Linked DNA regions of Homo sapiens: all the other regions are linked to region 7. The links are contacts of gene promoters, found by promoter capture Hi-C in blood cells and fetal thymus (Javierre and others, 2016). All regions are on one chromosome and are shown on one strand. The core of a region is centred on a gene start or on the middle of the fragment in contact, and the rest is flanking DNA. Distances in the headings are between cores, read along the strand shown.

Region 1 (2,700 bases), core at 57-2,556, 3.4 Mb before region 7:
ATTTCCTCAGGCTGACTTTGAGGCAGTGGACCAAAGCTGCAGCTGGAGAAAGCGGGCTGGGGTTGGGGAGGGCTTAATGGGATTTTGAGTCTGTGTGAGTGATTTTTAAGCTGTGAGTCAATTTGGTAGAAAGAGCACTGAACTGCAATCCACTGAAACAGTAATAATAATAATAGCTGCTTTTTGCTGTGCCAGGCACTGCCTAAGTCCTCTGTATCTTCTAATCCTCACCAAAAAACCTTAAATGAAGGACTTAGGGCTCAGAGAGAGTAAGTCACCCAGCCAGGAAGAGCTGTGTATCAGTTAGGGGAGTGAGTTTGGCTGCACATAACAGAACACACATAACAGTGGCTTGAACAAATCAAAAAGGGCTGTTTGTTTATTTTTTCTCTCATATGAGAAGTCTGGAAGTAGGCAGTCTGGGGACAGTGGGGATAGTATGGCAAATCCACACTGTCAGGAGAGGCCCATGGCCCTTCTAGTGTTTCCCTACTCTGTCCTTAAAATGTGGCCATAATGTCCCTCTTCCAGGCAGGAAGAAATATGGCAAAGACAAAAGGCACATACAGGGCCAGGTGTGGTGGCTTATACCTGCAATCCCAGCCACTCAGGAGACCAAGGTGGGAGGGTTGCTTGAGCCCAGGAGTTTGAGACCAGCCTGGACTGCATAGCAAGATCCCCTCTACAAAGAAATTTAAAAACAAAAAATTATCCAGGCATGGTGGTACGCCCCTATAGTCCCAGCTACTCAGGAGACTGAGGCAAGAGGATCACTTGAGCCCAGGAGCTGCAGGTTGCTGTGAACTATGATTGCACCACTGCACTGCAGGCTGGGCAACAGAGTGGGACTCTGTCTATAAAAACAAACAAACTGGCCAGGTGTGGTGGCTCATGCCTGTAATCCCAGCACTTTGGGAGGCTGAGGCCAGTGGATCACCTGAGGTCAGAAGTTCGAGACCAGCCTGGCAACATGGTGAAACCCTGTCTCTACGAAAAATACAAAAATCAGCCGGGCATGGTAACGGGTGCCTGTAATCCCAGCTACTTGGGAGGCTGAGGCAGGAGAATCGCTTGAACCCAGGAGGCGGAGGTTGCAGTGAGCCAAGATCGTGCCACTGCAATCCAGCCTGGGTGACAAAGTGAGACTGTCTAAAAACAAACAAACAAACATTCTCCTCCAGTGTGGCAAAAAGAATTTTTGAAATCAAATAAAAACAAACAAAAAGACACATACAGCTGAGTTTGCCCTCTGTTACAGAGATTTCCAGAAAGTCTCATCTCTCTGCTTCTACTGTGTTGTGTGGCCAGTTTTCTACAAATGCCTATTGTGTCACTGGTACTGTGCTAAGATTTTACATATATTGTTACATTTATTCCTCATAACAGCCTTATAGAGAAGGAATTACCAACCTCTGGGTTCTAGTTTATTCCCTGCTATGTGGCTAAAATGTCTTAGATAAATCACATTCCCTCTCTGGACCTCATTTGTTCATCTGCTTTATGAGGGATTGGACTAGATAAGGAGTTCCTAACTTGAGATCTACAAACCCCTAAAGGGACAATGGATAAAATTTAGAGGGAAGGGTCATGACTTTAGATAGGGGGAAAATTACATTCTTATCTTCACTAACTTTTTTTTTTTTTTGAGACAGAGTCTTGCACTGTCACCCAGGCTGGAGTGCAGTGGCCCAATCTCGGCTCACTGCAACCTCTGCCTCCCAGTTTTAAGCAATTCTCCTGCCTCAGCCTCCCAAGTAGCCAGGATTACAGATGACCACCACCCCGCCTGGCTAATTTTTGTATTTTCAGTAGAGATGGGGTTTCACCATGTTGGCCGGGCTGGCCTCAAACTCCCGACCTCAGGTGATCCTCCTGCCTCGGCCTCCCAAAGTGCTAGGATTACAGGCGTAAGCCACCGCGCCTGGCCTCTAACTTTTAACTGAAATTTAGTTTTTCCTTCTTTTATGAACTTAGCCAATAGAACATAGTAATATTAGCAGAGCTTTTGACTTTATCACCAAAAGAATATCAGATATTTCATAGCATATTACAGTTGTTTCAGATGACTTGAAATATTGAATATACTCATCACTACTTCAAAATTGTGGTAGTTATTACACCTGCTATACTTAATGTGTTAATAAAAAGGAGTGTGTGTGTAGACAAACAGAATATGTAGATACGTAGATATATATATCTTGCTAATTTTATTGTTAGTATTATAGGAACTGTATTTCAATATAATTTATTTCCTTCATATTCCAGTATATTTTGTTTTATGCATTTAAAAAAATTTCTCTGAGAAGCGATCCAGAGGCTTCAGCAGCCCACCAAAGGAGTTCATAGAACAAATGAGATGAAGAACTGGACAGAGATCTCTTTGTCCCTCCGGCTATAAATATAACTCTGTCATAAGCTATCGTGGTCTTCCTGATCAAGTCCTTTCAGCTCTCAATTTCCTCAGTTTCTCTTCGGTAAAATGGAAGTAATACTTGCTTTGTCTAGCTCAGAGCTGTTAGGGGAACCAAAGTAATCTTCATGTAAGCACACACGAATGCAGAGCTTACGCATTTTCAATTACACAGGATCGGCTTCTGTAGTGCTGAGTGAATGTTGAGTCTTACTATATTCTTCAACTTGAGACCTATTTCCCAGAGACGCTGATGTTTTTCTGTCACTTCCATGTAAGTGTCCTGCTAC
Region 2 (2,700 bases), core at 38-2,537, 4.2 Mb before region 7:
CAAGTCTTAAAATTTAGATCTAGCAGACTTAGGTACACAGACAATATGGCTAAAGAGATAGAAGGTTAGCTATACAATCAACCTTACAAGATAATGTATATCAATCATTCACTCCACATGGCTGCATCTTATGCTGATTCTTACACATCATAAATTGATTTCCTAAAGTAATGAAGTCTATAATTGTTAAAATGCTCCTACAGCCTACTTTTAGAAATTCTTTTATCAGGCAATACAGGAAAGTTCAAGGATATCCTCCCGAGTAGATGGGATTACAGGCGCCCGCCACCATGCCCGGCTAATTTTTGTATTTTTAGTAGAGACGAGGTTTCACCATGTTGGCCAGGCTGGTCCCGAACTCCTGACCTGAGGTGATCCACCCGCCTCCCAAAGCGCTGGGATTACAGGTGTGAGCCACCACGCCCAGCCAGTTCAAGGATATCTTTATAAACATAACCTTAAGGCTTGTTTCATGTTAAGCTTGTTTTTAAAAGCAGAAATAAAATGTCAGCATAAACCAGCTATTAATCCTGTGTAAGATTTGGAAAATGAGTATCAAACCAGTTTTGGACCTACCAAAGCCTTAGCTTTACTTAACAGTGTTCATGAAAAGTATTTTATTGGCAAAAGAAAACTTTAAATTCAATCATACATTTCAAAAATGGGGTCATATTCTTACCTGGAAATTTGATGTCCAGCATAGAGGAGCAGAGCAGTCAAAAAATATAGATAAAGCTGAACCAGATGCTGCCTGGGCAATGTTAGCAGCACCACACTTAAGATATAACCTGTACCAGAAAGATAAATAAAATACAATTTTAATTTAGTTTCCCAATTAATTACAATAAAAGAAAGAGCTTGAGACAAATAATTTTCCAAATAGGTTTCAGTACTTTCTGAGGTTTTTTATTATACTTACCAAAGTAAGTTTAGCATAGTGACACCCCTATGGATTTTTTGTTGTTGAAAATGTATTGTGTTTTTCACTTCTTTTGTAGATTTCTCTACCTAATAATCAAATATATCACACAAATGTGTAACACAACTCCTTTCTTCATCTACCTTTCCTTGATATCAACTTACTTGTTTTATGCCAATTCTCTCTTTCTTTCTAGTCCCAGAGGAAAAACTGGGTGTCTTAATGTCTCTTTCCAAGGCTGCCCCTTCCATGTGATTTAAGACCTTATTTCTCCAACCCCTGAAGACTCTCTATCTCCTATACTTTCAGTCGTTCCCCCTGACATCACTCCTTACCTTTGTTTCAAAGAATGTGCAGGGCTTTTACCCATCTTGAGAAAAAAAAAATAAACTTCTTTTCACTGCGATTTTTTTCCTATTATTTTTCTCATTCCACTGTCAAATGTTTGAAAAGATCTATACCCAATGCCTCTATTTTCTAAGCATCTATTCTTCTCTTTACCATCTACAATCCCTTTACAAACCCCCCTAACTTGTTTGCTCTAAAGAAAGTTGGAAGTCAACGACTGCCTACTTATCACATCTAAGACATCCTGCTTATTTTTGATCCCCAATATCCAGGCAACGACCATCAAAACGTTGTTACTCTTTGGCTCTGTTCATATGGATTTCCTCTTACCCTCTAACTTCTCTAATTTCTTTTCACGCTTTCCAATAAACACTGGAAATTTGGTTCCTAAACAACTGTTTTTCTCTATATATAAAGTACCTAGTGCAAACAACATATTTTGTAACTTCAAGTATCAGCATCTCTTCTATAAATGTTATCAACAAAGTTACTGATAACTTATTATACAGGCAAAAACATATCCTCATTTCTTAATCTAAGTAGACATCCCATCTCATGACACCTGAGATATATTCCACTTAAATGTTCTCATATTCAACAAGTACAAACTGTGCTCCCCACCTCCTCCCTCAACAAAGTAACTCAGTGACTCAAAACCTGTCATCTTTTCTCTCTTATCGTCAAGTCCTGCTGAGCCTTCCATGATAAATTCCTCTCATGTGTTACCCTTCCATTCCAACCTCTATGTCCCATATCCTAATCTGCTCTGCAATGCACAGTATACTACCATCCTTCTTTCAGTCTCTATTTTTGTATACCCTATACTTCAAGCTTGTCCAACCCACGGCCCATGGGCTACATGTGGCCCAGGATGGCTTTGAATACAGCCCAACACAAATTCATAAACTTTCTTAAAATATTATGAGTTTTTTTTTTTTTTTTTGCAATTTTAAGCTCATCAGCTATCACTAGTGTTAGCATATTTTATGTGTGGCCCAAGACAATTATTTTCCTAATGTGGTCCAGGGAAGCCAAAAGATTGGACACCCTGATATACTTAATTACCAGGGTAATATTCCTAACACCATCACTTTTACTTGACAATTCTCCTGCTCTAAAAGTTATGAACCTGACATTCTTGGTCTTACACAATCTGGACCCAGTCTACTCTTCTATAACCATCTTCCACTTAATTTACAAATCTTTATTAAGGCACAGGTACTCCTACTTATCCCCTATTGCCTCTCTCATGCTGAATCAATCATGCCAAAAGCTAAGAAAACATGAGCATGCTTGGGACTAAAGAAACAGAACTGAGGATTTCCTACACATCCTAACTGCAAGGACAGTCCATCAAAAGCCAGAGATAAGTATTTTTATTTGCTCTTTATTTCTTAAAATAATTTCCCCAATTTTGTTAACCCCTACCTCAA
Region 3 (2,700 bases), core at 184-2,683, 3.4 Mb before region 7:
CCTTGTCTCAAAATGAATAAATAAATAATTTTAAAATCGTCACATGTGGCTAGTAAGTACCATATTGGACATGACAGCATTAACGCTGATTCTCTTGTAGCCATTTATTTCAAGGAAATTATTAGAAATATACACAAATGTATATACATAGATGTGTTGCAGCATCATTCATAATTTTGGAAAGCTAGACAATGTTAAACAGGGTATTTGTAGTATAGTAAATTTATTTGGTCTTTGTCCCTGGTTCCTGTTACAGAGCCACTAGAACCCTTGGAATTTTCTGATAGTGTAGTGTATTTTTTTGTTATTCTTAATGTACCCCTTTTGATAACACCTGAGTTCATCCTAATGAGATAACTTTTAGGATCTGGCCTATCTATAGCCTAAGGAAGGATGGGGCCAGTCACCAAAAAGACTAAGTGATTAGAGTTTTAGAGGGTTGGAACTTTTGGCACCACCTACCAAAATCCAGGAAAGGAGGAGGGCAAGTGCTGGAGATTAAGCTCCATTAAAGCTTTTTTCTTCTTGTGTTTTGAGCCAAGTCTCGCTCTGTTGCCCAGGCTGGAGTGCAGAGGTGCGATCATAGTTCACTGGAGGCTTCAACCTCCTGGGCTCAAGCAATCCTCCTACATCAATGTCCCAAGTGGCTGGGACCACAGGCGCCTTCCACCACACCTTGCTAAATTTTTTTGTGTTTGAAATGAAGTCTTACTATGTTGCCCAGGCTGGTCTCGAACTCCTGGACTCAAGCAATATTCCCATCTCAGCTTCCCACAGTGCTAGGATTACAGGTGTGAGCTGCTGCGCCTGGCCTATAAAAACTCTTGAACTAGAAATCTGATGAGCTTCCAGGTTGATGAGCACATGGAAGTGTTAAGAGGGTAGCACCCAGAGAGGGCGTGGCAGCTCTGCACCCCTTCTCCCTCTACCTTTCCCTGTGTGTCTCTTCACCTGGCTGTTCTATATCATTCATAATGTCCTTTGTAATAAACTACTAAGTGTAAGTAAAGTGTTTCCCAGAGTTCTGTGAGCCATTCTAGCAAATTATTGAACCCACAGAGAGGGTGGTAAGAACCCTGTGCTAACCATTCAGTCGGAATCATAGGTCACAACCTGGGACTTGTGATTAGTGTCTGAAGTGGGGCCAGGCTTATGAGACTAAACTCTTAACCTGTGGGATCAGACACTGTCTACCTGGAGATAGTGACAGAACTGAATTGAATTATAGGACACTCCGTTGGTGTCCATTGGAGAATTGTTTAGTGTGGAAAACACTCTCATCTGGTGTCAGACCTATTGGGAGGGTATAGTAGGAGAGAAAAATGTGTTCTTCCCAGAGTATTACTTAAATTTTGTTGTTATATTTATGTAGTATACAATGCAGTTGTTAAAGGTAAATCTTGGCCGGGTGCAGTGGCTCATGCCTATAATCCCAGCACTTTGGGAGGCCAAGGTGGGCAGACCACTCAAGACCAGGAATTCAAGACCAGCCTGGCCAACATGGTGAAACCCCATCTCTACTAAAAATACAAAAATTAGCCAGGTATGGCGGTGCACACCTATAGTCCCAGCTACTTAGAAGGCTGAGGCACGAGAATTGCTTGAACCTAGGAGGCGGAGGTTGCAGAGAGCCGAGATCACGCCACTGCACTCCAGCCTGGGTGACAGAATGAGACTCTGTCTCAATAAATAAATAAATAATTTAAAAAATTTTTTTAAAAAGATGAATCGTAGGTATTGACCTGGGAAGCTGCCTGTAATATAATGTCAAATTAATTAATCAGGTTATACAACAGTGATGATTTCTTTTAAGGCTATGTGAAAATATGTTTATACATACAAATTTGAAGGATATACACCAAAGTATAAGCAGTAAGTAACTTTGAGAGGTATGATTATTAGGGAATTTTAATTTATATGTAATGCAATTTTGTAATATTTGCTTTTTTTTTCAGTAAGCCTGTATTACATTATTCCATTTTAAGAATATAAATAAATAAAAATTGATTACTTTACAACCAAACTGTGTGCCCTACCACAAAAGCACATGAAGCTGACCCCTGATGATTTGGGAAAGAAGTGCTATTCCGTACAGGGTCTATGTAGTATTAAAGGTTTCTTGTTGGACACAACCAAATAATAGTAGCCAAAGTCTGTTAATCAAGCTAACTTCACTTGTCCTGTGGCTGGGAAGATAATTCACGCTCAAGTGTAGTGTCACTTCTCAGCAGGACTCATAAATCAAGAATAATTGAGGAGGAAAGCAGTTAAGATTTGGTAAAAACAGGAAAAGCTCTCAGAGAGTATAGTGTATTCGTGTGTTTATTTCAGCAGTAAATCTTAACTATTTGTGAAAGCTTAAATGTAGATATAACTACCCACAGGAATGGAATTTTAGCTAACATTTGAGATGTACTAGGTATGTGAAGCAAATAACTGGTTCTGAGAGGCTTGGCTAAGGTGAAGGACAAATGTAGCAGCAGAAGAGAATTGCAATAATAACATTATGATACAAAAATTCTATCTTAGTGTGTTGGAGCTGCTATAACAAAATACCTTAGACTGGATAACTTATAAATAATAGAAATTTATTGCTCATAATTCTGGAGGCTGAGAAGTCCAAGATCAAGGTGCCAGCAATTTTAGTGTCTGGTGAGGGCCTCTTCCTTACAGATGGCACCATTTGTGTCCCTACATGGC
Region 4 (2,700 bases), core at 182-2,681, 4.2 Mb before region 7:
TGAGAAAAAAGTTTATCCTTTAAATGTTATTAAACTAGACTTATAAAATTTGAGAACCTTTTACAATAGTATATTTAAATTATTTTTATAAACTGTGATATTTTGTGGTAGTTCATTGAAAAGAGTACTTCACTTTGGAGCTAAATAGACTAGGATTTTAATTCTGGCTCTGTTCTTACTGTGTGACACTGGACAGGTCACTTAATCTTTCTGAGCCTTAGTTCCCTCACTTGAGAAATGAAGATATCTAAATACATATTACAGGTTAGTTGTAAGAATAGAAGTATCAATATAGCAACTAGTACTATGTCTGACATATAGTTACTTAATAATTAGAAACTTTTTATTAGCTGTGGGTCTTTTTGTTTTTCGTCTGATAATTACAGATACAAAGTAAGTACCGGATTAAAATTTTTTTCTATCTTATGATTATTTTCATTGGAGATACAATAGTCTTTAAAATTTTAGCTCAACTGACCAGTTTTGTACGTGTAAGGTGATTCTTCTGTTTTTTTGTATGTGTGCATGCTGAAGATTTTTTATTTTGAGAACTCAGGTTCCTCTTTTGCTTTTAAAAATCACACACACACACACACACACACACACACACACACTTCAAATAATTAAATTGCTTTTTCTCTTTTTAAACATTTTACTTGGTTATACCTGTATAGTTTAGTCCAGTAAACCAGGAGAGCACATAAAGATGAGGATTTAATTTTAGTATTAATGATCTCAAAGCTGGTTAATGTCTGACAATGAGCAGATACATGATGCAGGTATACTTCATGAATTTGTCTCATTTCTTGTTAGAAGCTGCTAGACTCAGTGAGCTTTAATTTGCTGAGACTGACAAAATGCAGATTTTCACTGAACCTGACTAGCTGGTTTTCAACATAAACTTTTGACACATAACAATATGCTTATATTGACACTATGTATACCTGTGCATTGCCTAGAAGTAGGAACATGGAAAAAAGTGATCCAGGCACCCAAGTTTAAGTTTGGAATTGATAGAGTGTCAGGGCTGATTTAAAAAGAGAGTTTAGGTCTTGATTTATAAATTTCCTAGGTTCAGAGTTCTTTTGAGCATGGATTACCTGTATCTTACAGATAAAAGTTGTTTAAAATTTATTCTGTCTTGAAGACACACTGCAGTAAGTTTACTTTTATCAATATTTAAAAGAAAATTACCATAAGTATGCTAGGGACTGTTAATTCTGATGCATTTAAACTTTTAGTTTTGCTTAGAAAACTTACTTATACAGATTTTTTTTAAAGAAATTCAAGCTTTTCATATGTATTGTATTATCATTCCTCGTGTTTTAGCTGCAACAAATATGAAGTGGATTGAAGCTAAAATGAAAGTAAGTGTTAGAAAGCAATCCATTTAAAAATATTTTCAAACTGCATTTGTCTTGTTAAAAGTTCTAGAACTGAATTAATTTTATTCTTACTGGAGGGCACTTAGTAGATAGATAAATGCCATTATTGGGAGTAGAGGTGTTTTTAAAGTGTGTTTAATAAGTGGATTGTACTGAATCCCTAAGTCTTTTTTAAGAAAAAGTATAACTAAGCTTGTCCCCTCCCCCACATTCTTCCTCATTTTACAATAATACTTTATTTTCCTTCTTTTGCTCTAGTGTGCAATACTTAAAGAGTCAGTATTCTCCTAAAATGGTAAATTAGGAAGTAATCTATTTCTATTTTCCTTGGTTTACCATTTATTGACTTGGCTAAGTGAAACTAAAATACTTCCTAGTTGTTTAGCAAGATGTAGTGGCCAGTGGTGTAGAAAGTTGGCATTATGAGAAATTGCAGCTAGAATATTCAGAAAATCTGAAATTTTCCACACTACTATGTTTTAACCTCACAAATATTTGTGTTTATAGGAGCTGGGAGTGAGCACAAATGCAAATTATAAGATTACTTTCATGTTGGATAGTGCTGCTATGATAACAGTACATACTCCAAGGAGAGGATTAATAGACGTAAGAAGTCATTTTATTTCTATTTAATGACACCATGGTTATTTTCCAGTGTACTTTTTATGTTTATACCTATGGAGTAAATAGTGTAGAGATTCATCTGAGTGAATAATAAAGTGGTTGAGTTTTGACATAGGAAAATGTATTTAAGGTTAAAAGATTTTTTTTTTTTTTTTTTTTTTTTTTTGAGATGGAGTCTCATTGTGCCGCCCAGGCTGGAGTGCAGTGGTGCAATCTCGCTCACGCAAGCTCCGCCTCCCAGGTTCACGCCATTCTCCTGCCTCAGCCTCCTGAGTAGCTGGGACTACAGGCACCCGCCACCACGCCCGGCTAATTTTTTCGTATTTTCAGTAGAGACGGAGTTTCACTGTTGTTAGCCAGGATGGTCTCGATCTCCTGACCTCGTGATCCGCCTGCCTCGGCCTCCCAAAGTGCTGGGATTATGGGCGTGAGCCACTGTGCCCAGCCAAGGTTAAAAGATTTGAATTTTAATGATAAAATTAGGGATCTTGAAGTAGGACTGTCAAGAAAGGAACTTGTGATTGTGGGTAATTGACCTGTGTTGATGACAGCACAATGTTACTGGGCAGAGTAGGTGAGAAAAATACTGAATATTATCAAGGAAGATACTAGAAACAAGCGAAAACACTCACCCTGCCCTGTTTGAAACTGGTAATAAAAGCAGATGCATCATGATGCATGTACTTTGGGA
Region 5 (2,700 bases), core at 159-2,658, 4.2 Mb before region 7:
ATGTGGCCTAAGTGAGGCCAATAAGATTCTATCTCAGGATTTTGGAATTTGGAGCTGAGCAATACAGAAACTAGGAGTCAGAGTCATATGAATGGCAGTGTTCTTGAGAGAAGGTCTATGGATCTAGAATTTATTGTTGAGGATCTTGGACTCACCTTGACTCCTGGTTCAACGACAGGCATAACTGTGTCTGGTACTGTGCTCTTTCTAATACTGCTCTCCTGCTTCCTCTCCTCAACTCCCTTTAGGCTCAAGCTAGCATGTTTAAGTTTCTGTTATTTAAAACCATAAATAATATTTCAAAACAAGTCACTTGAGGTAATATTTATACAGTAGCAAGAAAAAAATTACTACTTTGATGTTTTCAATAAAATTCTACATACTAAATGTAAATTTTCTATAAAATTTATTTAAGTATGAATGATGAAGCTCTGAAAATTCCAGGAGAGATATATGCAGATATCAGGGAAGTAATAATAGCTGTCAATAAAGAGGAAGAACATGAATTTTCCATTTGGTTTTACGGATTACGTGATGCTTATGTTTCTCATTTTGCAAACGGAAGATTGATGGAAACTGTCAAAATCTAGCCCAGGCCCATAGGCTGTTGTCTGAGAACTATTAAACCATAGAGGCTCTGAAACACAGAACGTATTTATCTTTTTGTCTTTTGGCTATTCAATAAACTCATTTTTACAAATGGAATTGAGGTCAGGGGAAATTGATTGCCTCAAGGTCAGGAGGGCAATTTTAGGCAAGGCTGCTTCTAGAACCCTGTCTAATGCTCTTTGGAAATAAACACATTGTTAAAGAAATGTCTCCTGAAGATTGGAAGCATAATGAATAAAACAAGGTAGCCTAGTCATTACAGATAGCTTATTGGTAATCAAAGCTTGCCTTGTTGTGTTGTAAATGTTTAGATTGTAACTGTCTAAACATTTCATTGATATTTTTTGAAGCATGGGAGATATTAATTTATTCACTTATGAGTCACTGTGGATGTAAAAAAACAAATAAATGAAATTACTTCATAATGTTAAATACTACAACATAACAATTTGATGTTCTTTTTTAAGATTTCATAGTGAATGTGATTAGGCAGCAATATATTATGCTAAAATTTTCATCTCAGAAATAGTTTCATTAGCCTAGAATTTGTGGGTTGGGACATTGTAATTATTATTCCATAAGTAAGAAGATACTATCTCTAATGCACAAGACTTTGGATATAAAAGAGAAGCACACATTTTATTGTTCCTATTAAAACTGTGCATGGGACATCTATGGAAGGTCTGTTCCACCCTTTGACTGTGGGAAAATTTCTACTCTATATTCTTCTCTATAAATGATAATGAAATTAAATGAATGTAGATATTCTGCCACCCTGCAATCTTTACTAACTTTGAAGTTTTCATTTTGTTTACTAAATAAAGAAAACTAATATATTAACCACCTGTGTCAAAGAAAAGTAGAATCAGTTTTTTATAATGAGTACATATTATTATTATTATTATTTTGTATTTTTGAGACGGAGTTTCGCTCTTGTTGCCCAGGCTGTAGTGCAATGGCACAATCTTGGCTCACTGCAACCTCTCCCTCCTGGGTTCAAGCTATTCTCCTGCCTCAGCCTCCTGAGTAGCTGGGATTACAGGTGCCTGCCACCACGCCCAGCTAATTTTTTGTATTTTTTGTAGAGATGGGGTTCACCATGTTGGCCAGGCTGGTTTCAAATTCCTGACCTCAGGTGATCCACCCAACTCAGACTCCCAAACTGCTGGGATTACAGGCGTCAGCCACAGCGCCCAGCCGAGTACATGTTATTTTTATAAATGAGAGAAAATGCATTTTACTGTTAGAATAAGTGGAATCAAGTCATGATAATGTTTTTCACTCCTGTTGGTAACTTTTCAGCCCTATATTTAGGTTAAGCTTGCTATATCATATTTATTCATTTATTTTGTTTTGTTTTGTTTGCTGTGTCATATATAGATATGTTTTGTTTTCAAAACGAAAACAAAAAAATGCCTTTTTTTCTCATTGTAAAAGTAATACAGAGATTTCCAGTTCCAAGACAGTTCCAGTTGCACGTCTCCCTATTCTTCTGCTAAGTATAGCTAAAAATCCTGGACAGTATATGTAAAATAAATATAAGGGGACTCTGGAAGGTAGAAATAAGGCAGATTGGCTATTTACCTTAAAAAACATGCTAGCAAATTCCTTGGGATTTCTTTTTGTTTCATATATCCCAGACTACGTACTGGCAATACAGGCAACCTAGAAATGCCAGGGGGTTCATGTAACACTCCCCCATCCCTACCCCAAGCCTGCTGTCTCTAGACAAAGGACCAGGAAAGGAACAGCCTGGTAAGGCAGAAAACATTTAGTTAATAACCACATATGCAGAAAAGTTACCATGGGAGGCCTAAGCCTGCCATCCTTAGAAATTCTTGCTTGCAAGATTGGTCTTTGGCTGGCATCTGGGAACATCCTACAGTTCCTATACAGATATGAAACTTTCCCCAAATGATAAGAATGGCTCACTGAGACTAGACTGTTGGCAAACAATGTAGCTTCTGCTGCACAGCTGCTTTCCTTCTGAGAGTCTGCAGTTTTGATAGGTGCAAGACAGTGGGTATCTACATGATGACATAGTTTGTCTGTGTCCCCATCCAAATCTTATCTTGAATTGTAATTCCCATA
Region 6 (2,700 bases), core at 176-2,675, 4.2 Mb before region 7:
CTCAGTGGCACAGTCTTGGCTCACCATAACCTCTGCCTCCCAGGTTCAAGCGATTCTCCTGCCTCAGCCTCCCAAGTAGCTGGGATTATAGTTGCCCACTGCCATGTCCAGCTAATTTTTGTATTTTTAGTAGAGATGGGGTTTCACCATGTTATCCAGGCTGGTCTCAAACTCCTGACCTCAAGTAATCCCCCCATCTCAGCCTCCCAAAGTGCTGGGATTACAGGTGTGAGCCACCCCACAGGCCGGAAATTTGCATTTTATTGTATGTTAGGCTTTGAGGATGTAACAGTAAATCTCAAGAGTCTCTGACCCCAAGACCTTCCAATGTCTTAGAGTGGGGGCAGACACATAAATGATGTGGGTTGGTTATCACAGATATACAAAGTGGTGTGGGTTAGTTGTGATAGAGGTGAGAAAATGTTACCATGAAAATGCAAATAGTGTGAAGTGGGTGGGATTAGCCCATTTGTGGGTTCTTGAGGGGATGGGGAGAGATATTCTGAGTGTTGAAAAATGCATAGGAGTCAGCTGAACGGGTGCTGACTCACACCTATAATCCCAGCACTTTGGGAGGCCAAGGTGGGTGGATCACCTGAGGTCAGGAGTTCAAGACCAGCCTGACCACCATGGTGAAACCCTGTGTCTACTGAAAATACAAAAATTAGCTGGGCGTGGCCGGGCATGGTGGCTCACGCCTGTAATCCCAGTACTTTGGGAGGCCAAGGTGGGTGGATCACCTGAGGTCAGGAGTTTGAGACCAGCCTGACCAACATGGCGAAAACCCATCTCTACTAAAAAAAAATAAAAATATTAGCCAGACATGGTGGCATGCACCTGTAGTCCCTCCCAACTATTCAGGAGTCTGAGGTGGGACGATGGCTTCAGCCCAGGAGGCGGAGGTTGCAGTGAGCCGAGATCACGCCACTGCATTCCAGCCTGCACAAAAAAGCCAGACCCAGTCTCAAAAAAAGAAAAAAAAATCTTCAAACAACCCATGGAGAGTCAACAGCTTCTCACAATAGTTGATCAGTTATAAAAAGCCAGCTAGCTTCTACCAGTTAAGATACCAGTAACAGTGGTGCCAATTGTTCAGATTATATGAAATTACAACTCCTATGTGTTATATATTCTATAATGTGAAGCAACTTGTGCACCCTGCAAACCAGGGTCCCTTGTAAATCACTGCATGGAGTAGTTTCATGGAGTAATAGGAGAATCAGTGATATTGTGGGTCCTCTTTTATCAATTATGTCACTTACCGCTGCGTATCCATATATTCTTTTTAATAAACTGCTATATATTAAAAAAAAAAAAAAAAAGACGTGCACCCAGAAGTGAAAGAATCAAGTTTAGGCACCTGCCAGATGCAGACAACCTGAAGACCACCAGCAACCTGCACTGCCTTAGCTGGCTTCTGCCCAGGTGGGGTCTGATGCAGCTGCTGGTGCCTGGGAAGGATTTAAGTGGGGGAGAGAGAGCATAAGGTGACCACAGGCCCTCACAAGTGCAGAGAACTCTCACTTTTTGGATGGAGATTGAGGCATTTAATTAATATCTTGACACATTTCTAATTACCAAAGCCAGACTGATTTTTTACTTAAAGTGAGTAGGAGTGCCCACTAATTAAGAATTCTTGATATCTGTCCAAGTTTCCACTGGAAGGCAGAAAAAAATTACTCCTTCTGAATACTTAAAGGGATAGTGAGTGATAAAATCAGATTGCATTTTGATTGCATCACAAATCTTCCGAGTTACTTCCAGAGTGTAAAGTTCATATAAGAAAGGATATGCAAAACAATTATGATTGGATCTCAGATTTACAGAGGGAATGGGGGGAAAGATGAGGTAAGCTGGGGCCAGTCCAGGAGTTAAGGAGGGACTTTTCATGCCATGCGAAGGAGTTTGGACTTTAACACAGAAATCAGTTAAATGCTGAGGAGTTGACTTAGAAGAGTAACATTTAGGGCATTTACTATGTTTTAGGTCCTGTACTAGGTAGTTTACATGAATTATCACATTTAATTATCATGAAAAACCTATGAAGTAGATAGTATAATTATTGCCATTCTAAAAATGAGAGAACTGAGGCATAGAGAGGTCAAGTAACTTGTCCAGAGTCACGCAGCTAGCAGCAGCAGAACTCAGATACAACCCAGACTTGTCAGGGTTCTATGTGTATATCCCCCATTATGCTGCACCTGCTTCCTGTCCCACTGATAATGCCAGGATAGATGATGAGTTTGTTCACAGAGTGTAGAACTCAAGCCCCACTGGTGTCTCCTTAGTAATGAATGAACGATTATTTTACCTGAAATGACTATATAAACAAAAGACAATAACACTTCAGGAATCTTCCCTGTGAGTTATCTTTGTTTTTGTTTTTGTTTTTGTTTTTTGAGACAAAGGCTCACTTTGTTGCCCATGCTGGAGTGGAGTGCCATGATCTCGGCTCACTGCAACCTCTGCCTCCTGGGTTCAAGCGATTCTGCCTCAGCCTCCTGAGTAGCTGGAACTACAGTCATGCGCCACCACTCCCAGCTAATTTTTGTATTTTTAGTAGAGATGGGGTTTCACCATGTTGGCCAGGCTGGTCTTGAACTCCTGACCTCAGGTGATCCACCCACCTCGGCCTCCCAAAGTGTTGGGATTACAGGCGTGGGCCACCGCGCCAGGCCCCTGTGAGTTTTCTTTGATGTC
Region 7 (2,700 bases), core at 8-2,507:
TTTTCAAAAGGAACAAAGGCCTCTTCCCCATTTGAGCCCCAGTTTCTTAAACTGACCTGATTATGTGGCTAAGGTATTATTGTGAGGTATTGATGTTTTCTCCTGTTTTTCCTTCCCCTTCCTCCCCACCCCTTTTCCCCCTTTCCAGAGTTTTGTTCTGTGGCATTGCCTTGGGTAAGTACACGGCAGGGCAAATAGCAGAGTGACGGCAAATCTTTCAGATTTTCACTTTTTCAAAGTAAGAGAGACCGAACTGGGGCCATGAGAACAGAGACATCCAACTACTGTGTAATTCATAAGAGTTTAGAAATGACTCCTTGTGCACCCTTTTTCAGGCCCTTTTACAAATGGACTTTTCTCACTTGTGATGATCTGGGAGAGTGAGAGTGAGGAGAGTCTAAGAAGAGTTCAGGCTAATTATTTTCCCACTAATCTGGCATAGGAGAGGCTCACAGAGATTAAATTCATTATGGTAAATACAAAGAGTAATACTGCTTTACACTCGGGTCTGTAGACTGAGATTCACACTCACCACAATTATTCCTGTTAACAGTCTGCCACATACCTTTCATTTTAAGCAACTGAAAAATTGTACCAACTTTTCTCTTTAAATTTGCTTTAAAAGCAAATTCAGAAAATTGGTAGAGGGTCAAGAAATTACACAGTCCAACTCCATTATTTGATAAATTGTATAAAAAGCAAACTAAGGCAAGAATCAACTGACTTCCAAAGTTCACGAAGAGAGCACTCTGGAAGTTGATAAACCACCAAACCATATAAATTCCACCACCTCTTTATCTGTAATTAAAAATCAAAGGTTGACTTTTTTTTTTTTAACTACTCACTGTATTTTTAGAAAGATGGGGCAGAACCACTGTAGAACTCCTAAACCCCACAGAACAAACAGTACATTCTGGAATGATACGCCGGCCAATCCGGCTGGCAGCCGATTGACCTGACCCAGGCGAGGGTTGCTGCACCGAGTATTTAGTTTGGCCCCCTACTGAATGAAGACACTTTGTTAAATTCTCCAATGAGAGACGCTTAGAGGTAGGGGCGTGGAAGGGGGCCGGGGAATTTGAGGCCAGATAACGGGAAGTGTGAGCCGATTGGCCGGACTTCTCACTCCACGGCCCAGCCGTTTACGGATCGCGGAGGCCATCCATCAAAAGAATTACACCAATCAGCGGCGAAAATGCCCCCTTCTCGCGAGAAAGCCCCGCCCTCCAATATATTCCTCGTTAGGGCAGGCGCGGCCCCTTCGGCTCCGAGCTGACCCTGATCAGGGCCGAGTTGTCTCGGCGGCGCTGCCGAGGCCTCCACCCAGGACAGTCCCCCTCCCCGGGCCTCTCTCCTCTTGCCTACGAGTCCCCTCTCCTCGTAGGCCTCTCGGATCTGATATCGTGGGGTGAGGTGAGCAGGCCCGGGGAGGGTGGTTACCGCTGAGGAGCTGCAGTCTCTGTCAAGGTGAGTGGGACTGCGCGGGAGTTGACCGCCAGGTGCGGGTGGGGAGCTGGGTTGGGGGCGCGGGGCGAGGAGTAGGTCTGGCCCGCGCCCTTTTCCACACTAAACTCTACCGCTGTTGTGAGCACAAGCCCAGGCTAGTCCGAGGCTGGAGGGGCGGAGCCGGATCCGGCCTCCTGAGGTGCCTTTCGTGTCTGCCGACCCAGTCCCAGGGACTAGCCTGGGGAGGAAGAATGGAACCCCTGCAGTTAGAGGTTCCTCACATGACTAGCTCTGAAGACCTCCTGCCTTCCTGTCTTTAGTTGGTGTGGGAGGGACCTTCCATGTATCCAGGGCTTAGCTTGTGCCCGGGACATGGTTGTGTTATGCACACTTAAATCAATGGAATTCCCAGGTTCATCTTTCAGACTAGGTTAGCAACAACCCACCGCACCCCCCCGCCCCAATACGTGCTCCTAATGTCACCTTTTAAGTTTCCTTTCCTAACAACAATAAAAGTTAAGTAATATTGAGTATTGTGTGCCAAGCACTGTGCTATACTCTTTAAGTGGTGAATCATCTTGTTCAGTCTTCACATTCAGCGACAGATATTGTTACCCTCATTTTATAAATCTAGAAAGAAGCTCAAGCTCATTATTATTGTTCAGTGTTTTTTAAGCGTCTACTGTATGTGCTAAGCTCTTTACGTGATTTCATTTTAACTCACAAATCTGTGAGGTAGGTCATAAACCTTATCCCTACTTTATCAATGTGGAACTAAGTACAATTAAGTAACTTGAACAGTTCATTTTGTTAATATGTGGCAGAATACTTAACTACCATCTGCTTTTCACTTTCGGTATCCTGTCTTACGGTGTTTATTCGTGGTTATCTATTGACAGTGAATAACTTGAACAAGTATTTCTTGAAGATTTGCATTTTATTTTTCTAAAAAGCATGGTTCCGACCGGGCGCGGTGGCTCACGCCTGTAATCCCGGCACTTTGGAAGGCCGAGGCGGGCAGATCACAAGGCCAGGAGACCGAGACCATCCTGGCCAACATGGTGAAACCCCGTCTCTACTAAAAATATAAAAATTAGCTGGGCGCGGTGGCGCATGCCTGTAATCCCAGCTCCTCGGGAGGCTGAGGCAGGAGAATCGCTTGAACCAGGGAGTCGGAGGTTGCAGTGAGCCAAGATCGTGCCACTGTACTCCAGCCTGGCAACAGAGCGAGACTCCTTCTCAAAAAAAAAAAAA

What was found. Contacts are between HindIII fragments. The CHiCAGO score rates a contact against its expected background, and 5 or more counts as called.
Region 1: a contact is called between a fragment that was not itself captured here and the fragment with the promoter of CCNG1 in region 7, in 2 of 17 cell types (naive CD8 T cells and non-activated CD4 T cells). The highest score is 10.4, in naive CD8 T cells.
Region 2: a fragment that was not itself captured here is called in contact with the fragment with the promoter of CCNG1 in region 7 in 2 of 17 cell types (non-activated CD4 T cells and total CD8 T cells); the score reaches 5.3 in non-activated CD4 T cells.
Region 3: a fragment that was not itself captured here is called in contact with the fragment with the promoter of CCNG1 in region 7 in 3 of 17 cell types (activated CD4 T cells, fetal thymus and total CD4 T cells); the score reaches 10.3 in activated CD4 T cells.
Region 4: a fragment that was not itself captured here is called in contact with the fragment with the promoter of CCNG1 in region 7 in 1 of 17 cell types (total CD8 T cells); the score reaches 8.1 in total CD8 T cells.
Region 5: a contact is called between a fragment that was not itself captured here and the fragment with the promoter of CCNG1 in region 7, in 1 of 17 cell types (total CD8 T cells). The highest score is 8.3, in total CD8 T cells.
Region 6: a contact is called between a fragment that was not itself captured here and the fragment with the promoter of CCNG1 in region 7, in 1 of 17 cell types (total CD8 T cells). The highest score is 5.3, in total CD8 T cells.

What each region holds. Positions count from the first base shown.
Region 1 is chr5:159,996,090-159,998,789 of GRCh38, forward strand. No RefSeq gene overlaps it. Among named protein-coding and RNA genes, the nearest start is that of TTC1, 12 kb to the right of the region's middle. The HindIII fragment of the contact is 3,133 bases long and covers 1-2,700 here.
Region 2 is chr5:159,194,037-159,196,736 of GRCh38, forward strand. It overlaps RNF145 (ring finger protein 145), which reads right to left. Exons shown (of 11, transcript NM_001199383.2): 3 at 680-788. Among named protein-coding and RNA genes, the nearest start is that of RNF145, 14 kb to the right of the region's middle. The HindIII fragment of the contact is 1,618 bases long and covers 479-2,096 here.
Region 3 is chr5:160,014,694-160,017,393 of GRCh38, forward strand. The region is part of intron 2 of TTC1 (tetratricopeptide repeat domain 1); the gene reads left to right. LOC124901124 (a long non-coding RNA gene) reads left to right here. Exons shown (of 2, transcript XR_007059025.1): 1 at 1-2,700. Among named protein-coding and RNA genes, the nearest start is that of TTC1, 6.9 kb to the left of the region's middle. The HindIII fragment of the contact is 1,843 bases long and covers 513-2,355 here.
Region 4 is chr5:159,273,256-159,275,955 of GRCh38, forward strand. It overlaps UBLCP1 (ubiquitin like domain containing CTD phosphatase 1), which reads left to right. Exons shown (of 11, transcript NM_145049.5): 7 at 1,330-1,367; 8 at 1,893-1,991. Among named protein-coding and RNA genes, the nearest start is that of UBLCP1, 11 kb to the left of the region's middle. The HindIII fragment of the contact is 287 bases long and covers 1,289-1,575 here.
Region 5 is chr5:159,252,399-159,255,098 of GRCh38, forward strand. No RefSeq gene overlaps it. Among named protein-coding and RNA genes, the nearest start is that of UBLCP1, 9.5 kb to the right of the region's middle. The HindIII fragment of the contact is 1,037 bases long and covers 891-1,927 here.
Region 6 is chr5:159,217,002-159,219,701 of GRCh38, forward strand. No RefSeq gene overlaps it. Among named protein-coding and RNA genes, the nearest start is that of RNF145, 8.8 kb to the left of the region's middle. The HindIII fragment of the contact is 6,206 bases long and covers 1-2,700 here.
Region 7 is chr5:163,436,338-163,439,037 of GRCh38, forward strand. It overlaps CCNG1 (cyclin G1), which reads left to right and starts at 1,258. Exons shown (of 7, transcript NM_004060.4): 1 at 1,258-1,467. It also overlaps a transcript of LOC105377700 not described here. RefSeq lists enhancers at 863-912, 1,354-1,931, 1,623-1,822 and a silencer at 1,103-1,182. The HindIII fragment of the contact is 4,161 bases long and covers 1-2,700 here.